4 separate regions of the Homo sapiens genome follow, and all the other regions are linked to region 2. The links are contacts of gene promoters, found by promoter capture Hi-C in blood cells and fetal thymus (Javierre and others, 2016). All regions are on one chromosome and are shown on one strand. The core of a region is centred on a gene start or on the middle of the fragment in contact, and the rest is flanking DNA. Distances in the headings are between cores, read along the strand shown.

Region 1 (3,724 bases), core at 47-2,546, 360 kb before region 2:
GCGTGAGCCACCATGCCCGACTCCTAATTAATAAAATTCTTTAATTAGATTGTTTTTTAATTATCAAGTTGTAAAAGTTTTTCTACATTCCTCTTTACTCTTAATTAGTTGAAAATTTGTCAATTGTTCTTTAAGGTAAAAAGGCTAAATCAAGACCTTATGCTACCAGTTTGGATAAGAAGCGAGGCACTGGGTCTATCTGTAGTGGTATGTTGCAGTCAGTTTGTCACAAGAGCCAATTGTTAAATTTCAGGAACTTTGCAAACTACTTGTTAAACACAGTCCTTATTAAAAAGCAAATTATATCAACTTACAATTAAATATCTTATATTAGTATTAGAAATAAATATATTAGATGTTCTAAGCTTATTACTTCTGAATTATTTTTCTACATTTTATTATTATTTATGCTATTGAGGTTATTTATGCTATTGTCTCTATGGTGGAAATATTATACAATTATGTGTAAGTGTACACCTCTTCCCAACTCCATATGGAAATTGACCATGTGGGAGTACTGTATTTATACCATGGAAGTTGGCAAACACTACACATCAGCTTCTCCCCTATCTCTTTCCACCAAGAGCTGCTAATTAAACATCTGTCAGCGCACCACTGGACAATTAGGCCTGGATATTATAAAGATGTTCCAAAGGCCTAATTCTTGACAGAGAATGTAAGCAGAAGAGAATTTTTTAAGACCCCTAGCAACCCTTGCTGAGAGCACATCTTTGAAGTCCAGGCTGTGGTGCCACTTTGGAACAACTCTCATGAAGTTGCATCAAAAGATACTGGTCAGCTTTGCCTGCTAAGTTGGAGAAAGTAGGCCATGTGTTCTTTGAATGTCTGGAGGACGATGATGATTTTATTTGACTTTGCTCTGTATAATCAGTGTTTAGCATGGCGTTGAGCTGATACTATTTACTCAGTAATATTTGTTGAATAAATGATAGCTGTGCTTTTCTTCTGCCCCATGGTTATAAGGACTGAAATTTAAGAAGCCTGATTGAATAGATTCCTTCAAAATTTCCCCCCAATACCTACTTAATAAGTTCCTGGGATAAGAGGTTGTCTCAGAATCCAGGGTGAGATGGGGTAGAGTTGGGGCAGAACTATACCTATGGAAGCAGCAAGAGAACAAATTACTTCTGTGGTACATATTCTGCAAAAATGCAAGAGCCACAGTCAAGGGCAATTGACTTCTTCCTTGTAAGACCCTCTTTTTCTGGTTAAAAAAGTTTTTCTTCTATAAATCTAGTTCTCTAAGTCTCATAGGCCAGCCCTGAACCACATGGCCATGACTTGCTGTAAGGAAGTCTGGGAAAGTATCTGGCAAAGGGGAAGAAGAGAGCCATGGTTGGCTTAGGTTAGGGGTAGGCAAACTATAGTCTGTGGGTCAAAACTGGATGATCACCTAATTTTAGAATGTTTTCAAGCTAAGAATAGTTTTTACATAAAAATATATACCAGAGCATAGCCATCATGTCAAAACAAGAAAAGAAGAGAAAAGTGAACTTTTTGTGTCATGCTTTTAAGGCACAGTGGATTGTGGATTATTTTGTTATCAAATTGGATGACAAAGTATGTGTTTATTGTGCAGTGATACTATACCTGTACTAAAAGATAATATACATCAATATTCCCAGATTCATCACAATATTCCCAACTCACAGGGAGACAATGGTCAGAAAATGTGAAAATTTACAATGGAAAACGTCATCACAGCAGAATTTCTTCACAAAAATAACAAAAGAGTTGAAACCAAAGTAATTTTCTGAGTGGCTTCTTTGTTGGCCAAGCAAAGAAAGCTGTTTACTGATGATGAGTTAATTAAATCATGTTTGATCACAGCAGCTGAAAAAATTTTTTCCCAAGAAAATAAACTTGTTTCAGACGATTAACCTTTCAGTGAGATCTGTTGTTTGAAGAGTTGAAGACACTGGGAGCAACATCAATAGTCATGTACAAAACAAGGTAGATGATTTTGAGTGGTTTTCCTTGGCTCTTGATGAGTTGACAGGTATTACCAATAGTGCTCAGTTGCTTATTCAAGGAGTCAACGCTGAGTTTAAAGTCACTGAAGAATTAGCCTCTATGAATCGTCTGCGTAGAACAACTATGGGCAAATATATTTTCAAAGATGTTGGGAAAACATTAATAAAACCTGAAGTAGAATCTGTTAAGATGCCTTATAACTTATGGTGATAAAAATGTGTATGGAGAAGAAAAAGCTTAGTTGGACAAATTAATAAAGCTTGTGAAAATGTGAGAGACTTAAAGCCCATTGTTACTTACTATGCTGTTCATCAGCAGGTAATTTGCAGAAAGTGTTTGAATCTATTGTGTGTTTCTGACCCAGAAGTTCCAATGGTGAACTTCATTTACTCTGGTGGACTTAATGATCAATTCTGCAAACTTTTGTCAAAAATAGAAGCTGAATATCCCGATTTGCCCTATCACACAGCAGTTTTATGGCTTAGCAGCGGTAAAGTTTTGTTGCAATTTTTAAAACTCAGGCCTGAGACTTCTGGAATGAGAAGAACCTCCCTCAATTACTGTTATTGAACATGAGTGGCTTTGAAAATTAGCTTGTGTGGCAGACTTCATCATGTTTCTCAATATAAAATTACAAGGCAAACAGAGCATATGTCCAAAACTCACATTATGGTAAAGTCATTTTAACAAAAACTAATGCTGTTTCAATCACAAGTAATGTCAACCTGCTTAATATAGTTCCTGTGCTGTCAAAGTTTTAAAAAGAAGCAAGAGCTCCATTCCCACAAACATTTGCAGGAGATATATTTTCCAAAATCAAACTAAAGTTCCAATAGCATTTTTGGATTTCAATGCAAGTGGAAAGGAAATTTTCAAACATCAAAATCCATTTATTAAAGAAGACACAGATAAATGGAAAGACATCCTCTGTTCATGGATTGGAAGAATACCATTACAATGTTCATACCACACAACATGATCTACAGATTCAATACAATCCCTAAAAAATTTTGATAATACTATTTAAGAAATAGAAAAAAACAACATAAAATTTATAACAAACCACAAAAGGCCCTGAATAGCCAAAGCAATCTTGAACAAGAAGAACAAAGCTGGAGGTATCATACTTCTTGATTTCAAAGTACATGACAATGCTACACTAATCAAAACAGTATGGTACTGGCATAAAAATATACAGATAGGCCAATGGAACAGAGCAGAGAGCCCACGAATAAATCTATGTATCTATGGTCAACTGATCTTAAACAATAACACACAAGGATCGACTCTTTATTAGATGGTGTTGGGAAAACTGGATATTCACATGTAGGAGAATGAAATTGGACCCTTACCTCACCCCATGTGATAAAGTCAACTAAAACAGATTAAATATTCAAACATAAGATCTAAAACTGTAAAATTACTAGAAGCAAAGATAGGAAGAAAGCTTCTTGACCTTGTTCTGAGCAATGATTTTTTGAATATGACCCCAAAAGCACAGGCAACGAAAGCAAAAATAGACAGGTGGGATTGCATCAAACCAAAAAGCTTTTGCACAGCAAAGGAAACAACAGAATTAAGAGACAACTTACAGAATGAGAGAAATATTTGCCAACTATTTATGTGATAAAGGGTTAATATAGAAAATACAAAGAATTCAGCTTAATAGCAAAAAAACCAAATAACCTTATTAAAAAATGGACTAAGGACCTGATAGACATTTCTCCAA
Region 2 (3,820 bases), core at 1,054-3,553:
TCCAAGAGTGGCCACAGAACTGGATTAAGTAATAGATGAAAAGATACGCATTCTTCCTATACCTATAAATACAGGAAAATACCATTAAACACTTCTTTTATAATCATCCTTTCATCACTGTACACATGCCCTTTAATGTACTGGCCAACCTGAGAAAGCAAAAGAAAACTGTTTCATATCAGTCTTTTATCTGGTTACCCCCAAGTACATATCAGATTTTGAAGGGAGCCATAACCTACACTACCCGCTAAAGTAAATACAGATGCTTCTTCACTTATGATGAAGTTACGTCCTGGTACACCCCATCAGCTGAAAATATCATAAACTGAAAATATCATAAGTTGAAAATGCATGTAATACAACTGATCTACAGAACATCACAGCTTAGCCTAGTCTACCTTAAACTTGCTCAGAACACCTACATTAGCTTACAGTTGGGTGGAATCATCTGGCAACACAGTGCACTGTGGAGTACCGGTTGTTTACCTTCCTGATCATGCGGCCGACTGGGAGCTGCGGCCTGATGCCGCGGCCCAGCATCATGAAAGGATATCATACCTGCACATCGCTAGCCTGGGGAAAGATTAAAATCCAAAATTTGAAGTACGGTTTCTAATGAATACATATCATTTTCACACCATCACAAAGTTTAAAAAATTGTGAGTCATGGACCATCTGTATAGTGAGTTTGCTTAAAACCAAATATAGTGCTTTTTCAAAATCTGCTTTCATCTTTGATAAAGTTCTAACCTTGCTGCTCACCAAGGAATAAAAGAAACCACTGCGAAGGTGGCTTTGAATATTCTTTAAAAAAACAAAACAGGCTGGGCGCGGTGGCTCAGGCATGTAATCCCAGCACTTTGGGAGGCCAAGGCGGGTTGGATCACTTGAGGCCAGAAGTTCAAGACCAGCCTGGCCAACATGGCAACTTACAAAAAAAAAAAAAAAAAAGCCGGATGTGGTAACGTATGCCTGTAATCCCAGCTACCTAGCTGCTCAGGAGGCTGAGGCAGGACAATCACTTGAACCTGGGAGGTAGAGGCTGCAGTGAACCGAGACAGCGCCACTGCACTCCAGCCTGGGCGACAGATCAAAACTCTGTTCTCAAAAATAAATAAAAAATAAAAAACAAAACAACAACAACAACAAAAAATCCATGTGTGCAGAGTGGTTGACATGTCACTATGTGTTCCAGTAGCTCAGCTTGCTAAGTGCAGAACTTGAGACACAGTGTTTTAGTTCTGAAGGGGGGTAGGGATGGGAGTAATCCAAATGTTGGGTAATTCAGTAATTGGACACACCTGACTTTTGAACACATTATGTGATTGAGGTTAGTATTAACATCTTGCCACTGCCTATTAACATTTTGCAAGGGTAGATAGTTTCCTTCATCAGATACATATCGAAAGCAGTTTAGTTGCTCATACCAGAAGAGGGAAGTCAAGCTGGGTTTAACAATGTGTTGTGAGTTGCTGGGGAGATGACTAAGAGAAGATTGACAGATAGATGGTTTGAGGGAGTTAGGAAAAGCACTGTTTGAAATGTTCCCTGGGAGTTCAGAAGAGTGACGGGAGTGGCCCTGCCAGTGTGGTCAAGATTTACTCCTCCTTGAAGATGTGAAACCTCCTAGAAACAAGGAAAATAAGCTGGGAGGCAGAATGATTTTTATTTGGGGACATCCTCCCCTATAAAGGCAGGAACTGCTAAAGGGTTTGGGAAGAGGAAATCCTCCTTCAGCTTGTATCAGAATTACCTGGCTTGTGGGTTAAACATATACACCCCCAGGCCCTACCGCTATATGACTGAATCTGTTCCCCGCCGGAACTAGGCCCTGAAATCTATACGTGTGATAGGTGTTTCCACGGCTGTTACATCTAAAAATCACCCCGCAACTCTGCGTCTGAGAAAGTCAAGAGAAGGCTCCTGGGGGGAGGGAAGTACTGGCAGAGGGCTCACAAGGGCAGGGGTAGCCATGCAGCCTGTCCTTCCCATTCAACTGTAAAATGGAGAAAATAACAGAGCCTGCTTCCTAGGGTGGTCAAGAGGGGTAAGTTAGCAAATACCTGCATGAGCTCCAAGGGGTGCCTGGGCACGGTAGCGCTGCGCCTTGCTGGCGGGCGGGGGGTGCCGCCCGCCCGCCCGCCGCAGAGGGGAGCTCCCGCCTCCAGGCCCTCCACCCGCGCCCCCTCCCCTCGGGATTCGGCCGAGCGCCCTACCTGGGCTGCAGCCAGGCGGGCAGCGCCAAGGGCCCCATGGGCCGCCGCCGCCAGGGCTTCCAGCGCGGTCCAGGAAGGAGTACCGGGGAGGAGGCAGGGGCGGCCCCGCGGCTGGGCGCGGAAGGGCGGGGCCTCTCCACACTCAGCAGTTTACAAAAAGAAAAAGCCCGAGGTCGTGCGTTGGGGAAGAGATGAAAACGAAGTTCTCGAAGTTTCTGCAGCACTGCTAGAGCGCGTCAGGGCGCAAGGCTGGGAGGCGGCTCGCGTTCCCGGTGGGGTTACCAAACTCTGGTTACAGCTTCCTAATCTTTGTGTTGAGACCCCCTTGCAAGCCTTCTGGAAATTAATGCATCTGGGCGATTTCCGGGGCCTCCGAACTCGCTGAAGCCCATCCCCAAACCTCCCGAGATGAGTGGATTCCAGGGTGGGCTCTGCTCAATGCCCACCGGTGAGCCAGGTTCAGACACGAAGCTTGTGCCGGGCGCAGTGGCTAATGCCTATAATCCCAGCACTTTGGGAGGCCGAGGCGGGAGGATCTTTTGAGCCCAGGAGTTCGAGACCAGCCTGGGCAACATAGCGAAAACGCGTCTCTACTAAATGTACAAAAATTAGTCGGGCATGGTGACGCGGGCCTGTGGTCCCAGCTACTCCAGAGGCTGAGGTGGGAGGATCGCTTGAGCCTGGGAGGTCGAGGCTGCAATGAGCCAAGATCACGCGGCTACACTCCAGCCTGGGTAACAGAGCGAGATCCTGTCTCAAAAAATAAATAAAAATAAAACGAAGTTTGTAGCACACCTCCCCAACACTTTTTCAGCTAGGGGCCTGATTCCTCTTCTATCAGGCCTCCCTGCTCTCTAATCTCCCTTGGGTTCTCACTGGTGCCTGCAAATCTTTATTCACGTTGTGTTAATTTCTCTAGCCTATGCCCAGCACTGCTACAACCCCTTCGTGATCTCTCAGGCTTATGACATCACTGTCTCCGTACACAGATGACCCACCCTCCTGCTTTGCTAATAAGATCCAGCCCATCTTCAAGCTCCTCTGCCCAGAAAGGGAAACGTTAAAACAAAAACAGAAACATCTAAGAAGGCACTTGCAAGTAAGTGGGACAATGGCACCTGGTTTTGGAGTTGGAAGTTAGCGCCCCCATTTTTACCAAAAGGGAAGTTGAGGCATTAAAAAAATGTTAAGTCACTTGGCACAGGTCACACAATTGATAAAATGGCAGTATCAGAACTTCAAGGTTGGTGGGATTTCTTGTTTGTTTCCCATTAGGCCGTGGCTTCCTTTTTTCATAGTCCATTCCATTCACTATGCCTACCTCTCACCTCTACATTTCTCTGCACCTTCTCTCATACCCTGCCCTCAGTCGGAGGTTAACCCCAACTTTGTGTTTACCAGTCCCTTCTCAGACTCACTGCATCAGTAGTTAACCATCGCCTCTTCTTGCATCGTCATCCCCTCCTTTCCATTGGCTTTCACTGCACTTTAGGGACATAGACAACTCTCTCTTAGCATATAATTAAACATTGTATTCTTTCTGTTTCTCTCTCAATGGAATCTTCTAATAACTCCCTGCCTGCCTTCTCTGATCAGGTGCTTCT
Region 3 (4,102 bases), core at 89-2,588, 340 kb before region 2:
CTTATCTCCCTGATAAGAGTGCTGTTAACATTGGAGTGCTTCAGGGGTCAGTCATTAGACCTTATACTTCTGGATCATATCATTCAGCCTTTAAATATTAGCATTATTATTATTTATTAATTAATTAATTTTATTTTATTATTATTTTTTGAGATGGAGTCTCGCTCTGTCCCCCAGGCTAGAGTGCAGTGGCGTCATCTCGGCTCACTGCAAGCCGCACCTCCCGGGTTCACGCCATTCTCCTGCCTCAGCCTCCTGAGTAGCTGGGACTACAGGTGCCCGCCACCATGCCCAGATAATTTTTTGTATTTTTAGTAGAGACGGGTTTCACCATGTTAGCCAGGATGGTCTCGATTTCCTAACCTCGTGATCTGCCCACTTCGGCCTCCCAAAGTGCTGGGATTATAGGCATGAGCCACCAAGCCCGGCCAATTTATTTTTTGAGATGGAGTCTCCCTCTGTCACCCAGGCTGGAGTGCACTGGCACGATCTCGGCTCACTGCAACCTCCGCCTCCCGGGTTCAAGCGATTCTCCTGCTTCAGCCTCTTGAGTAGCCGGGACTACAGGTGCGCACTACCACACCAGGCTAATTTTTTTATTTTTAGTAGAGACGTTGGCCAGGCTGATCTCGAAAAATGATCCACCCGCCTTGGCCTCCCAAAGTGCTGGGATTACAGGTGTGAGCCACGGCACCTGGCCTAAGTATTAGCTTTAAATACTAGTAATACCCTACTAGCTTCCAAATTTATATTTTCAGCCTCGCCTTCCCTTGAACTCCTGACTCCGTATATCCAGTGACTACTCAGCATTTTCTGTTTGGATGACTAATATATATTTCAAACTAAACTCTGAAATTTCCTTTTTTACCTATAATCTTTCCTATTTCAGTTAACAGAAACTCCATCCTTTTTATGAGATAGGCTAAAAACCTGAGTATCATCCTTGACTCTTCTTTATCTCACAATCTATATATATATACTGTTACTTTGGAAAGTGTGTTGGCTATACCTTCACAATGTATTTAGAATCCAAGTACTTGTCACTACCCACTGCTATCACCCTAGTCTAAGCCCCCGTTGTTTATGTCCGGATCTTGCAGTAGCCTCTATATTAGTTATCAATTGTTACCTACTCCCAACATTTTGTGGCTTAAACCAACAGTTATGTATTAGTTTGTGATTCTGTGGTTGGCAGCTTAGGTTGGACTTGGGGTAGATGTGGGGCAGCTCTTTTGCTGGTCTTGCCCGTGCTCACTCATGTAGTGATCGGCACTGGTAGGTTTGGAGGCCTCAGCTGAGATGGCTTATCTCTGCTCTACGTGGTCAGTAAACTATCTCATGTTTATGTTTCTTTACGTAGTGGTGTAATGGAAGCAAGATAACAAGAGGAAACTATGTGGCCTTTTGAGGCCGGGACTTAGAACTTCTACAGCTTCACTTTCCCTGCTGTTGGTGAGAGCAGGTCACCAGGTCAAGCCAGATGAAGGGGAGAGAAAATTAGCCTACTTTTTTTTCTGAGGGGGTGCAGCAAAGTCACTTTGTAAAGCAGTTTGTATACAGAGATTGGGAGCAATTGGAGGCCATTTTTTGCAAACTGTCCTGGCCTTCTAATGGATTGCTTCTATCTTTCCCCTTACAGTATTGTCAGAACAGCAGCCAGAGTGATTTTATAAAAACGTGAGTTAGATCTCTTCTCTGCCCCAAACTCTCCAGTGGCTTCCCGTTGCCACCCAAAGTAAAAGGCAGTCTTGGGATTGTCCTGTGAGGCTTGCCATGATCTGACCCATTTGTTGCCTCTCCAACTCCATTTACAGCCACTCTCTCTCTCTTACTTAATCTGCTCAAATGAGCCTCTGCTGTTCTTCAGACATCTGAGGCATGCTTTCACCATGGCATTGGCACTGCTACTCTTTCCGCCTAGAGTCTTCTTTTCTGAGATGACGAAACTGCTCTTTTACTCCCCTTCAGGCTACTCGAGTACTTCCTCAGCCTTTCCCTGACCATCCTTTTAAAAATAGAAACCTCTCTCTCTAATACTGTCTATCCTCCACTCTGGTTTACTTTTATCCATAGCACTTATCTTCAGAAATGCTATGTAATTTACTATTTTGCTTATTCTTGTCTTGCCTCTACTAGGAATGTAATCTATAAGGGCAGGGATTTTTCTCTGTTTTCCCAGTGCTTAGTATAGTGTCTGATACAAGGTAGGCATCTCATAAATATTTCTTAAATGGAGGAATGAAAGGTACTGCAACCTTTTTCAGGATTAGGTATCTCTTCCATTCTTTATGGAAAAGCTCTGGACCATTATCTGAGGAAATTCCTGGTCTCCTTTGCAAGTACTTTTGCAATCACTATTTATTTATTTATTTATTTATTTAGATGGAATCTTGCTCTGTTGCCCAGGCTGAAGTGCAGTGGCACAATCTTGGCTCACTGCAACCTCTGCCTCCTGGGTTCAAGTGATTCTCGTGCCTCAGCCTCCCAAGTAGATGGGATTACAGGTGCGTGCTTCCACGCCTGGTTAATTTCTGTATTTTTAGTACAGATGGCACTTCACCATGTTGGCCAGGCCAGTCTCGAACTCTTGACTTCAAGTGATCTTCCTGCCTTGGCCTCTCAAAGTGCTGGGATTGCAGGTGTGAGCCACCGTGCCCAGCTGCAATCCATTTTTTAAAAGAGGTCTTCTAGACCAAGTATTCTTCCACATCCAGACTCTAATTTATTCTTTGCAAGAAGATTATCATGTTCTCTTAACTATATGCAATACCTTTCTTGATACTTAATAGCAACCTCTTCACTTTGAGTTGTAAATCATAACATTTTTTGTACAAAGCAAAGCTGAAACAGGTGAAAGGAATAGTCTAGGGCAGAAAATTTTCAAACCTTTTCTAAGGTCTTAGACTCTCTCCACCTCCACATATCTTACTGAGAACTTCAGATAAGAGAAGTGTTTTATTATTCAAAATAAAGGTTTTATTATTCAAAATAAAGCTATTTTACATTTGAATTTATAGCATACTCTTATTATAAAGTCAATCTGAACCATGAAGCTATTATAAGGAGTGTAATATTGAAATGAATGATTATGAATAAAAATGATACTCTCTATATGTCTCAGCCTCCAATTTATTTTTGTATTGTGATTTTGTATTTTGGTTTTGTTGCAGACCATCAAGGAAATTTCCATCCACACAGATTAGCAGTTGAAAATGGTAATAATTTTTTTTAACAGTTCACATTGCAATCTTGCAATCTCTAGTTACTTTTTTAAAATTTTCTTTTATTTTTAAAAATGTCTTACTAAAACATACACAGATTAATAGGGAATATAGTAAATGAACTTAATTTCAACAACATCAACATTTTGTCAATCTTGTTTTTCTCTCTAACATTTTTTCTTCCCTAGTAATTGTCTTTAATTAATAAGGACTTCTTAAAGTACTATTACTAGGCCATTCATTAACAACCCTAACAAAATTAATACCAATTCCTAAATATTATCCAATACAGTCCATATTTCAGAATTTCTCAGTTGGGCCAAGATTGTCTTAGTAGAATTGGTTTTTTGAAATCAGAATCATGTAAGTTTCCCAAATATAATATAATTTGGTTACTATGTCTGTTTAGTCACTTATTCTGTACAATCCCTCCACTCCTTTTTTCCCATGTCATTGATTTGTTGGAGAAACCGAGTACTTTGTCCTGTAAAGTGTCCCAGATTCTGGACTTGATCTATTGCTCTGCAAGTGGTATTGTCCTGGAAGAGGTACCTTGTTCCTGTATCTCATATATTTCTTGTAAATTGGTAATTAAATATAGAGAGTTGTGTATATTAGTGGCAAATTTTTTTTTAGGTAAGAGTATTTTTACAGAAGCCTGTGTATGTCCTATTCCATCACCCATGAGGATACAATGTGTGGTATTCTTACTTTTAGTGATGCTAAGATGAATCAATGGATTCAAGTGGGATCATCCTGATCCCTCTAATATAAAGTTCCCTATCTTCCTTTAACTTAATATTTTTAGCCACAGTTGATGATTCATTCACAAATCAAAGTATTTATTAACAAAGTAACTTCATATTGGTAAAGATTTTTCT
Region 4 (4,150 bases), core at 797-3,296, 390 kb before region 2:
GTATTGGATCCAGTTTAATTCCAAACTAATTAAGCTTGGACTAGAACCAACTGCAATGAATCAAAGCAATCAGCACCTTTTACCCAAAATTATACAGTAGGTTAATCTAGCAAAAGGAAAGAATACACATTTCAGGCCAGGGTCATTATGTTAGTCAATTATCTTTTTGTGCAGGGGACAGAGACTAAGGGATCATAGGGGAGGATTTATTGGAAAGGTTCTGAGATAGCTCACAGATTCTGAAGAACCAGGGCCGTTTTAGGGCCTTCAGTGACTACAACCAGAATCTTAATGCCACCTCTTTCTTCCTACTGCCTTCTTTCCCTCTGGCTGTCAGCTTTATGCTTCTTGCATATGTACACTTCTGAGAAAAGGGGATACATTTTATGCCTTTAAAGGTTCTAGAATGGGAATCTGGGTCAAAGAATATGGATCTTTTACAAAGTTCTTGATATGTTGCCAAATTGCTTTCTAAAAAATACATACTGGTTTAGACTCTTAATAGGAGTGTACGATCATGCTTATTTTTGAAACAACCTCACCAGCCTTAAATTTTGTATTTTCATAACTTTTCTAGTAGAATAAAATGATATATCATTGAAATTGTTAACTTTTTGTATTATAGCAGTAAAAGTGAATTGTTTCACATATTTATTGGTATTTATATTTCTGCTTCTGAGATTTGTCTGCACATTGTACTTTTTTCCATTGAAGTTTCAGTGTTTTCATTATTGATTTAAACTACTACATGCTTTTTGTCAGATATATTGAAATATTTTTCTACTTTATAATTTACCTTTCATGTTTTGATGGCTTCTGTTGTGTAGACTCGAATTTTTCATGTAGTCAAATATCCGATGTTGATTCCTTTGTGGTTTAGGCCATTGATTTTATACTTAGACAATTATTCCTTCAGCTCAAGAACAAGTAAATAGTTCCCTAAATAAACTCCTAGTTTTTTAACCTGCACTTTGGCAAACTTTTGCCATATTTCAGGCACATGTTTTAGTAGTCATTGGTTTGTCTTACAGTGAACACTTTTCACATTTAATATCTGGAATTTATTTTAGTATATATTGCAAGTTGACAATTTAACTTAAGTTTTCACAGTTAACCAACGTATTGAATGATTTTTCCTTTACATATTGCAATGTGATGTCAACTTTATTATTTACATCAGTTTTATAAGTAAGAGATAGTATATATTTCTGGCTATTTATTTTGTTTCAAAGATATGCTCATAAACATTTACACTAGTAATACTGTGTTTTATGTGCTGTTTTAATGTCTGATGGGGCAAGTTCTTGAATTAGGACTCTTTTGGTTAAAAGAAAGAAAAACTTATTTAAGTTACTTTAAGAAAAAGGGAGAATATCCATGGACCCTGTGCCCAGAGGCAAGGATCTCTTTGACAAGGAGAGAGAGCTACAGAGCCACTCCAATTGCATCCTTTTAGCTGGGAGAATGCTTAATAGCTGTTCACTCTTCCCCTCACCAATTTTCCTTTTTTTTTTTTTAATTTCCTCACTCTTTTCTATTTTTTTTTAAGCTAATCAACTGTAGAATCACCGTTTCAAGCTCCAAAAGGTATCCTATTTGGATTTTGATTGGAGTTGCATTAAACCTATAAATTAATTTGAGAAGAACTGACATCTTTATAATAGTCATTGCTACCCAGGAACGTGTGAGGACTTCCCATTTATTCAAGTCTTCTTTTATGACCTTAAGTAAAATTTTGTAGTTTTACTTATATAGTTCCTGTCCATTTCTTGTTATGGTTATTCTGAAGTATTTATATCATTCATTTCTAAGCCAATTACAATCTGACTTCTATCTATTAATCTTAATTCTTTTGTTACTAAAAAAAAGAGGGGGGAAGTAGCGGAAATTATTTGAAGGACATTAAGGAAGCTCATAGAATTAAGTGAATAGAATTAAGATTCAAAAAAAGGTGGGGCAGATATTTCTCTTTCACAGGAGTGCATGCGCCTGCTCTCTCTCTCCATTGCTCATGTTTCATCTCTACATATCTCTGTATATTTACTTCATTCTGATATTTCCATCATTCAGAAGGAAAAAAAGATGTTTTCTCATTAGTTGCAGACAGAAAAATTCCATGCAAATGTTCAGATTGGTCTAGCTTGGGTCATACGCCTTCTTTTTTTTTTTTTTTTTTTTTTTTTAATGAGACAGAGTCTCACTATGTCTCCAAGGCTGGAGTGCAGTGGTGTGATCTCGGCTCACTGCAACCTCCAGTTCCCAGGTTCAAATGATTCTCCTGCCTTGGCCTCCCAAGTAGCCGGGACCACAGGTGCACGCCATCACACCCAGCTAAATTTTTTGTATTTTTAGTAGAGAAGGGGTTTTACCATGTTGGTCAGGCTGATCTCGAACTCCTGACCTCAAGTTATTCATCCACTTCAGCCTCTTAAAGGCTGGGATTACAGGCATGAGCCACTGTGCCCAGCCATATGCCTACTATTGAATGCTGCCTATCTCTACAGCCAGGAAGATGTGATGCTATAATTAGCACAACCTGAATCATGTGCCTGCTCCTGTGGACAGAGAAGCAGGATTTGTTGCCAGATGTAGAAGAGAAAGGCATTCCGGGCAGACAATAGCCACGGCATCCACTGACATTGTTGCTGTCAAATTTGCCTGTGATCACCTTTTTGCTAATTACAATGAATACTTTTCAACTCTTGGAATTATTTTAGTCTCTGAAGACTTTGATGCTGTTGACAACTTCTTGAAATTCCCTTCTCCTTTTGTTTTAGTAATGAATTTTCTTGTGTTTTTTCCTCTCTTTAACTCCTGCTGTTCATTTTTATTCCCTTTTTTAGAACCTTTTTTCTTTTACTCACCCTTGTTATTGGTTTTATCCAGGCTTCCATCTTTGATTTATTTATCTTCTCCTTCTAGAGTACATTATTCTGGATTATCTCATCTAATCCTATGGCTTCAATTATAACCTGCCCATGGATGATTCTCAAATCTCTTCCTCCAGGCCAGCTCTCACTTTGCGTGTTTAGGCTCAGCCTCTAGTAATAAGGAACTCACTGATTTAGCTACAAGGAAAAATGGGGGGTTGAACTATCTCTTGGCCACAGGAGACACTGAACATATTGTTAATACTCTAGAAACTGTGTCCTATAAAATAGTTTATTTTTAAATCTCTGCTATTCTTGAACACTTTGTTGTGCTTTCAAAGGAAGAATGTTTTCTCATTATTTGTACTTCATTTCTAATGATCTGATAGAAGCCAGAACAAGGCATAATAATTAGAAAAAAATGCTGGAATGGGTATCTAACTCAGGATTACGGTGGGGATCCAGTGAGATAATTGATACATGTAAAAAGTATTTGATAAGTCATAAACAGCCATATATTACCAATTTGGACCAAACAAGGTACCCTCTCTCTCTAAGAGATCCTGAGTGATTTCATTAGTCATTTAAATTTAATTTGATGCACAATGAATAGTCATAGTATATAAAATACATCTATTTCAACCCCAAAGCCAGCATCATGTTAATGGGAAACATCTGGAGAAGTCCCATTAAAATCAGGAGCTAGGTGAAAATATCTGTCACCTCTATTTGACACTATTTTGGAGACAGTAGCCATCACAAGAAAGGAGACAGAAATGAGAAGTATAAAAAGTGGAAAGGAAGAGGGCAAAATTATAATTATTTGTAAATATTACTATTGCATTTCTGAAAAACTTGAGATAACTGAAAAATTACTACAGATGATAAGACAATTCAGTAAGTTGGCTAAGTATAAAATTAGCATACGGAAATGAATAGTCAATTCATTAACGTGTATTAACTGTTAGTTTAGAAGATATAATGGACAAAAAGATTCCATTTACAAAAGCAATGAAAATGTAGAAAATCTATTTGAAAAAAAAACAAAAACATTAAGCTGCAACTAAAGTCTCAAAAGAACTTTGAACAAATGGAAAGACATAGCATATTCTTGAACAGGAAGACATTATCACACACAGATTGATCCAATAAAAAGACAAGATGTTTTTATTTCAGCCAATCAAATTCTAAAGCTTATATTTAAAAATAACAAGCAATAGTATCTAGGAAAATGTAGGAAAAGCCTAGAGTGTGAAGGTCAACTAGCTTTTTTATATCTT

What was found. Contacts are between HindIII fragments. The CHiCAGO score rates a contact against its expected background, and 5 or more counts as called.
Region 1: a contact is called between a fragment that was not itself captured here and the fragment with the promoter of HACD4 in region 2, in 1 of 17 cell types (neutrophils). The highest score is 5.2, in neutrophils.
Region 3: a fragment that was not itself captured here is called in contact with the fragment with the promoter of HACD4 in region 2 in 1 of 17 cell types (neutrophils); the score reaches 6.3 in neutrophils.
Region 4: a fragment that was not itself captured here is called in contact with the fragment with the promoter of HACD4 in region 2 in 1 of 17 cell types (neutrophils); the score reaches 5.4 in neutrophils.

The regions. Positions count from the first base shown.
Region 1 is chr9:20,673,850-20,677,573 of GRCh38, forward strand. It overlaps a transcript of FOCAD not described here. Among named protein-coding and RNA genes, the nearest start is that of FOCAD, 8.5 kb to the right of the region's middle. The HindIII fragment of the contact is 1,866 bases long and covers 364-2,229 here.
Region 2 is chr9:21,029,337-21,033,156 of GRCh38, forward strand. It overlaps HACD4 (3-hydroxyacyl-CoA dehydratase 4), which reads right to left and starts at 2,304. Exons shown (of 7, transcript NM_001010915.5): 1 at 2,217-2,304; 2 at 1-62. The coding sequence starts at 2,254. It overlaps LOC105375989 (a long non-coding RNA gene), which reads left to right and starts at 2,306. Exons shown (of 3, transcript XR_007061435.1): 1 at 2,306-2,664; 2 at 3,136-3,315. RefSeq lists a silencer at 2,080-2,439 and an enhancer at 2,083-2,643. The HindIII fragment of the contact is 3,612 bases long and covers 1-2,685 here.
Region 3 is chr9:20,691,350-20,695,451 of GRCh38, forward strand. The region is part of intron 1 of FOCAD (focadhesin); the gene reads left to right. Among named protein-coding and RNA genes, the nearest start is that of FOCAD-AS1, 8.7 kb to the left of the region's middle. The HindIII fragment of the contact is 5,795 bases long and covers 1-4,102 here.
Region 4 is chr9:20,644,351-20,648,500 of GRCh38, forward strand. No RefSeq gene overlaps it. Among named protein-coding and RNA genes, the nearest start is that of MLLT3, 24 kb to the left of the region's middle. The HindIII fragment of the contact is 4,029 bases long and covers 33-4,061 here.